Regions from separate parts of the Homo sapiens genome. Here region 2 is linked to region 1. Evidence: promoter capture Hi-C in human tissues and cell types (Jung and others, 2019). All regions are on one chromosome and are shown on one strand. Each heading gives the region's core, a stretch centred on a gene start or on the middle of the fragment in contact. The rest is flanking DNA. Distances are from core to core; before and after follow the strand shown.

Region 1 (3,904 bases), core at 454-2,953:
CTGACTCCTCATTCATGCTACATATCCAGTGTGTGTCATTGTAGCCACTTAGGGTCACAGGTCACAGAGTTAAACCTCTCAGAAGAGAGCAGGGCATTGTGCAGTGCCTCCTTATGCTGCTATGTACAAGTGGTGTGTCCTCTCATTGGACATTTTCTTGGTTACCGCTAGCCATACTGCCATACCTAACTTCAGAGAAGAGAGAGTAACACCCTGGCCTGTGCCCAGAAGGCAGAGAGCTAAAAACATTCAATGAACAACACTAAAAAACCCCATCGGTGTCTTCGACCCAATATGCGGAAGGAGTATGAAGGAGAAGAGCTTCCAGGGGATGAAAAGCTTTATGAAAGCTGCCAAGATCAGAACGCCTGGCTGGAGAGAGGGGCTCCAAACAGGAATGCTTGGAGGCACGGTGTTAAGGGAGGACAGGGCAGAGTGTGAAGCTGGGCTAAGGAGGTTGGATTTGATCCGGGAGACACGGAAAGTCATAAAGGAGCTGTGGTTTCAGATTTACCTGACTGCTTTGTGTAGGAGAGATCAGAGGGTGGCAGCCCAGAGGCAGGAGATCTTTCTTAACCAGGCAAAGGGCTCTGAGGACTCGAATAGCGGTCTTCTAATGCGCAGGAATGGAAGGGCTATGCTTGTCAGCAGAGTCTTGATCAGATTTGGAACTAATTGGATATGAGATGTAAGCAGGGTGGAGAATCAAAGATGATTCCAGGATTTGAGCCTGGGAGAATGCTGCCATTAGAATTAGAGAAAACAGTGGAAAATGGGCAAGTCAGGGAAGGAAGATGGGGCTTGTTGATCTCAAAGCAGGGATTTTTATTTTGTTCACTCCTGTTTCCCTGTACCCAGGACAGTGCTTAGCGCCTAGTGTGTGCTTGGTAATGTTCATTGGCTACAGAATACAGTAGAACATAAATGGAGACGTCCCCAGGCGACCGCTAAGGCAGAACTGGCACTCCTTGGTGGTGTCTGTGCTGGGAGGGAGGTCTTCCTGTCTGAAGTCGTAAGATGAGACGTGCTGCCAAGAGAAAAAGCTTAGAGAAGAAAGGGATGAAACTGAAGGGAGAACTTTGGGAATCATGACATTTAGGACTAGAAAGGAGGACCGGAATCCAGGGAAAGGGGGCATTTGAGGAAGCATCAGATGCTGCAAGTGGGCGAGGGGCGTTGGGATGGCTCAGAGGGCATCTGGTGGCACAGCTCATGTCACTGGGCCTCCCCAGGGTAGCCGGGCGCAGGCCAGCAAGCGCCTCCCGCCTGGAGAACAGGAGGCTGCGTAGCCGACGGGGAGCCTGGGCCAGGGGCGGTTCTGGTTTCTGTTTGGTTTTGGGGGGTTCATAAATGCGATTTAGTCCTGTAGCAAAGTGAGCAAGGTGAAGGGGAGAGACCGGAGGCGCATGAGGGAGGAGGGAAAAGATGGTTGGCATCAAGGAGGTGGATAAAGGGCTGCCCTCCCGGGGCAGGGCCCCTGGAGGGCCGGAGGGGTGGTGAACGCCGTCGTGGTGATGGTGAGGGCCTTAGCGACCACCACCCGAGTGAGGCCCCCTCACCTTCAGGCCCAGAGCCGAGGGGAGGAGCCTCCCCCAGGGCCGGCGGGGGCGGGCAGGTGAGCCGGGCAGGTGCGCAGGCGAGCGCGGCGGGCTGGGCGGGCCGAGGCCACACCCTGAAACTACCTGCGTGGGCCGGGCCGGAGTGTGAGAGCGGAGCTGCAGCCGGAGAAAGAGGAAGAGGGAGAGAGAGCGCGCCAGGGCGAGGGCACCGCCGCCGGTCGGGCGCGCTGGGCCTGCCCGGAATCCCGCCGCCTGCGCCCCGCGCCCCGCGCCCTGCGGGCCATGGGAGCCGGCCGCCGGCAGGGACGACGCCTGTGAGACCCGCGAGCGGCCTCGGGGACCATGGGGAGCGATCGGGCCCGCAAGGGCGGAGGGGGCCCGAAGGACTTCGGCGCGGGACTCAAGTACAACTCCCGGCACGAGGTGAGCGCGGGCCGGGGACCCGGGGCGCTGGGAAGCTCCTGCCCGCCCGACCCTGCAGCGCGGCGCTGGGCTCGGCCGGCTCCCCTGGCGTGTCCGTCGGTGGCCGAGCTCTGGGCGCACAGGTGGAATTTCCTGTTCAGCGGGTGCCGGGCCGCGGGCGGGCGGGGCTGGCCGGACCTTTGGTACCGGACCGGCTGCGCCCCGCCAGGGGGAGGCGGGAAGCCCCTGGGCCTTCCTGCGCCCTCGGTCCTTTCTTTCCCTGAGTTGAAAAAAGGGGCTCCGTCTCGGCCCCTCCATGACTCTCGCGCTGTTAGTGAACATCTGGAAGAAACCAGGGGCTTGGAGTGGGGTTATTTGGGAGGAAGTGAAATTTCAGGAGGGTTTGGAGTCTCAGCCATCCTTGGCCTCTGCAGAAAGTTTCTTTCGTCTCTCTCCTTCCCCGTCAAAAGGCGCTTTGGGACCTCGCAGAGGACAACTGGGAGGCCAGGGCTTTGGCTGCCATACGGGCTGGAGCTAAGAACTCCAGAGTTGGGCTTGCCTGGGCTTCTCGAGAGGGGATGGAGCCCTTTGGGAAGGCGGCTGTATGGGAAGGGATGTGGGAACACACATGTCTTGAGCCTTTTGCGAAGTACCGAAACAGGAAGCTCTTCTTTGGCAGAAAGAACAATGAAAGACCTATTGAAAGATCTCAAAAAGATTACATGTTCCTGTATGGAGTTGGGGATGGGTCGCTAGTCACTTCATTGACGGACCCACCTAGGTGGTAGTGCCCGGGCGGGACCAGCAGCCAGGTCTCTACCCTCTCTGTCCAAGGCAGACCCCCAGGTTTCCTGGAAGGCCAGGGCATACCAGGTCAGGGCGGCGCTGAGAGGCAGGGGCTGTGTGGCAGAGAGTTTTGCTCCTCTGCAAATGATGGCCTCCCTGCCCTGCCAACCCTCACTTTCTCCCCTCCTTCCGGGTGCCCCTGGGCTCCATAGTCTCCGCCGTTGCTCCCTAAGTCAGGCCTGATTTTGGTGCTGTCTCAGATCAATTCCTTTTGTCCAAGCAGCATCCCGACCTAGGGAGCTTGCAGAAAATCAGACGCTGGGGCTTTGGAGGCTGCCTGCACCACAGACAGGACCTGGGGCTGGGCTCTGCTATTTTCTCCACTTTTCACCCTCAGCAAGGAGGAAAGCTTCCAGTGGACCTGAAGGCTTGGGCCCTTCCCCTGGCTGTGCCTGTGCCCTGCTGTGAGGCAGATTCACCTTCTCTTCCTTGCTGTAATTGCTATGTTTGTGTCCTTGCTAATTGCCTACTTGGGGTTCTAGACTCCCTGCCTCTTCAGCAGAGAACCTGCTGTTTGGAATTTGTTATTTCAGGGCAGTCCGGTGCCCCCACCCCAAGTTTGTTCTCCCTGACTTCCCTTTCTAGGACTCTCCTGCCCACACGGGGAAAGCAGGGTCTTCCTGGTCGTGTGGTCCAGCCTCCTCTCTGAGCCATCTCACCACCTGACAAGCAGCCAGGCTGGGGCTCACCTTCCACTCACCCCCAGGATCCCACATTCAGCGGACTTGTCTTGTCACCTGCAAGCCCTGGCTTTAGTTTCCCCCATCCCTGCTCATTTCCTCCTCCTCTGCGAAGCTCATTTGCTCTCTGCGCCCTTGGGCTGTTCCTTCCCCCTCTGCCATTTTCATTCTCTTGGCTTGCTCTTTGTCTTTTCTCCTGCCGAGCTTTATTGAACTAACTCAGTACCTAGTCCCATGGGTGAAGGGAAGGCTCTCAGAGACCAGTAAGATGTGGTTGTTTCCTTTAAAGAACATCCAGTCTTGAGAGCGAAACTAAGAGACGAATGCCAAAGTTAGCTGTGAGGCGGAGTGTCCAGAGGAAATTGGCCAAAGCTCATTTCCATGTCTTGCAGATTCCTCCCATCCCTGGCCTCACCA
Region 2 (3,904 bases), core at 450-2,949, 740 kb after region 1:
AATTGTAGACAACAAGGTAGTCAATAAAAGCTTTCTGATACTCTCAAGGCATTTTTCATCCCTGTAACCCCTGTAACAGAGAATCTATCTTCTCTTACGGCTGCAGATTCCCTGGACACTATTCAGCATCACATCCACCTTCTCTGCAACTTGAGATTCTGATGTGAGGGAGAATTCAGCAGTCTTACCTTTGAACTAGGGTCCCAAAGATAAGACGAAGAAACTTTTGCATGTTTTCGGTACATAGCCATTTCCACTGTTCTGTTAGTAGCAAGAGGAGCAGATCCAGGGCTGTGTCAGCTAACTCTGTCTCTGTTCCTGAGGGATAAAATGGCATCAGGAGTAACTCAGAAGAGACCCATACTTGAGGAACATCTTTCAAGGTACTGGTGGCACCTGTGTCTCTCTACCTTCATGCCAATCATCTGGTATTTTTGCAATCCCTCTACACTCAAATCAAAAGAGGTTTAACTCATATCTAGAAGGTTCAGTGACAGGCTCAGCATTTCTTTACAATTTTTATTAATGTTCCTGATATTGTAACCTAATAAATGTTTCTATGTTTTTAAAAGATATATATCTTCTAATTATATATATATCTGCTAAATATATATATGTGTGTATATATACATATATATATATATACACATACACACACACACACACACACACACACACACACACGCACTTATTTTGCCTACTTAGTTTCTATTTCTTCTGTATTTCCCCAGGATGCTGAATACTTTCTGTTCCAAAGAAAATCACAACTAGTGACTAAGTGTAACTGGCAAGGCCTCCTCTCTTTCCAACCTTGCATTCCACTCGCCCCCACAAAGCATTATGGAAACACCGTGGCAGAAGTGGGGAAAGAGTTGGCATTCACTTTCCTGAAAAACCTCCATTACACAGAGCTGTGGGGTTAGGATTCAGGAGGCTTCAGTCTGATTTTGAGATAACATGTGGTTCTAGGAAGAACACCACACCTCTGGTAAAATGCCATAACAATTACTACGTTCTTTCCTGTTTCAAAGACTGTAAGGGCCACAAATGAGCTTATACCCATGCTAAACTAAGGTTTCCTGAACAAATGTATTTTGTGGAAGGAAGCACGTGCTGTTTAAACCTGTCCTGGGGTTCCAATGTCACGTCTGATTTGCCTCCAAGTATGTGATGTTACAGAATGGATCTGAGATATCTGGTGCCACTGCTGTGATTAATATTATAAGTAATATCAACAATGACTTTGTTAGTGTAGGACAAACGGATACTCTCTGGATCACCTTGCCCAAGCTCTCCTTGAACATGAATGACTTCCGATTTGGACAGATCTACTAGAACTGAATCATACTTCCCTCTTAACCCTATATAATACATATTTTCTTTTCTGTTTGTATTGCAAGGATTGGGAGCTGATATGTTGTGTGATTTCTAATCATCTTCTCAAAGATGGAATATTGCATTCCTTGGGAGACAGCATCATCCTGAGCCTTAGTCCTCAATTGTATGATTCTCTCAGGTTTAGCATTTGCTTGGAGCTGCCACCATGTGGTAACAATTAGTTACAGCAGTGAAAAATAAGAAAGCAAACAAGGTACCACCAAGTCAGTTGCCTTAAAGAAAATGGTAGATTTTTTTTTGTTTTTTATAATCATATGAGCATTTTGAGTCTCTCAGAGATAGAAGAAGGGTTTCAGGCCTAAACCATCCCTCTAGAGATATGATGTTCAACATGTACAGGCTGGACTTTGCCTAGAATGATATTCTTACCACACTGACCCTGCCCCCCACCATCTTTACAGTCTCTTAGAGTTCTCTGATGCTTTCACTGTCATATCACTTCATTTAGTTAACTGTGAGATGTGTGAAGGGATGGGGCTGTCAACCCCATTTTTCACAGACTTAAATTGAGGCCCTCAGAAGAGATGTCAGGTGATTTGTTCATGGGCACCTCAGAAAGAATAGTGAAATCAGCTTTTTCCCCAGTTTTGAATCCAAGATTTTGTGATCTTTTATTCTCAACAGAGGGCTTTATCTTGATGGAACTGATATACTTATTTTAAGTTCTTGTTCAGTAACCATACTGATTAATATCTAGGGCTTTGAATTTTTCTTCTACAGAGTACACATCTGCTCTTCTTCTCCTGGAAGGCAAAATTGCTCTGCCTCCAATGCATATAAGGAGAAAGTAAAGCTTTCACCTCTTCTCCCTCCCTACTTTATGTTGGGTAACTAGGTGGTATCATCTGCCATGGCAGTAAATAAAGATAAAAAGAATAGATCTGGGGAAAAAAGACAATTTCCATCTTGAACACGTTACATTTCAGTTGCCCTGTGGTATATCCAAGTGAAGATATACAATATTCAATGTTTAAGGCATCACCACACACATGTTAGAGCTGAAGCCAACACTACAGCTGGAGTCACCCTGGAAGAGTGTGTAGAATAAGGACAGCGAGCCAAAAATCAAGCTCTGGCAGGTGGATCATGGAGCCAACAGAGTGGACTAAGAAGCCACGAAAAAGGCATGAAGGAAACCAGGAAACTGAGACACTAAGGGAAGAAAGTTTCTAAGAAATGCAAGAGTCTGATATGCCAAAGCATGCCAAAAATAAGTTTAATGAGTTATCAATATTATCAGCATGATCTCATCCTGCTGGATTAGAACTTCCTGTGTTTGTGCCCTGTTCTGCTGCTTGATTCCGCTGTGGCAACTATGTACTACTCATCTCTGTGCCCCAACACAGCACCTCCAACACTGGAGTTCAACACATGGCATGCTCAGCTGAATGGAACAGAAATCAAAGTTACAAACTCCAACTACCCCAAGTACCAAGTGGATGCCACCCTGGCTCCCTTCTCCATGGGAGCAGAGACCTCGCCACTCACCTGGATCGCTGTTGCTGGGGTCTTGGGCTGGCACGGCTGCATCTGACACGCAACTGTCCACACGTCCTTTGGGAGGTTGTTCAGGATCTTTTTCTGGGGCTTTTGTTGGCTGCATTTCCAGTAACTTTGTCTGTTTTTCAATAAAAGATTCCATCGCAGACATGGATAGAGTCTCAGACTCCTAAGAAATAGTCAGTGGCATATCACATATGGAATGCTGACAGTAGGGGAGCAAATGCAGCACTCTAGGTTTCCCTGCCTCTCCCCTGCATAAGTACCTTGGGTATAAAACCCAACTGATGCTATGACTCCTTTAGGAAAGATTTTATTTTTTACCGAAGTTGCAAGTAAAACAGGCCTGCCCTGGGATTATCATTTCTGCACCCATTTTTGGTCATCCATTTTTTTTTCCAGGAACTAGCTTTCTTTCTTATCTTGTCATCCATTATCCGAAACCCACCATGGTTGAGAAGCCAACCTGCCAACCCAGAACTGGTAGGAATTCCAAACCACTTAGAGAAAATACTTTTAGCATAAAAGCTGGAGATCCAAACGTTGATTAAGTCATTTAGCAGGACATTTCTGACTTCAGAGAATATCTCAACTACCTGTAACTGCAGGACCAACATCTCAGATATTTTTGCCTCACATTCTCTGGGTTTTGGTTCTTACCACATTGCCTTCCTGGAGACAATAAAGAATCTTGTCTTGTGCTTCAGTCACACTTAGTGCTGGAGAAATTTTACTGGATGAGAACCTCAGCCTAGACCTGGTACAGAAACAAAGAGCAGAAACAGGTTGTAATTTATGGCCTTGAGCCTCACACTAAGGGCTGGCAAGTACTGATAATAAAACACAACAAGAATATCCATACTTATTCTGGGGAGCTTACTGTGGTCAGAGCTGCCAGGAAAGACTCGGCCCTGCAATCCCCCAAACAATGTATATTCTGGCAATTCTTGATAGATAATGTTAACGCATACACTAAGCTATGTCTACAGTGCACTTGTGAAATGGT

Evidence for each region. Contacts are between HindIII fragments. The study calls those that stand out against the background at their distance.
Region 2: a contact is called between a fragment that was not itself captured here and the fragment with the promoter of ST14 in region 1, in 2 of the 25 tissues and cell types used here (spleen and thymus).

The regions. Positions count from the first base shown.
Region 1 is chr11:130,158,079-130,161,982 of GRCh38, forward strand. ST14 (ST14 transmembrane serine protease matriptase) reads left to right here and starts at 1,704. Exons shown (of 19, transcript NM_021978.4): 1 at 1,704-1,982. The coding sequence starts at 1,902. RefSeq lists silencers at 1,583-1,702, 1,783-1,852 and an enhancer at 2,940-3,439. The HindIII fragment of the contact is 3,998 bases long and covers 692-3,904 here.
Region 2 is chr11:130,903,067-130,906,970 of GRCh38, forward strand. SNX19 (sorting nexin 19) reads right to left here. Exons shown (of 11, transcript NM_014758.3): 6 at 3,559-3,655; 7 at 2,887-3,067; 8 at 189-318. Among named protein-coding and RNA genes, the nearest start is that of SNX19, 11 kb to the right of the region's middle. The HindIII fragment of the contact is 6,489 bases long and covers 1-3,904 here.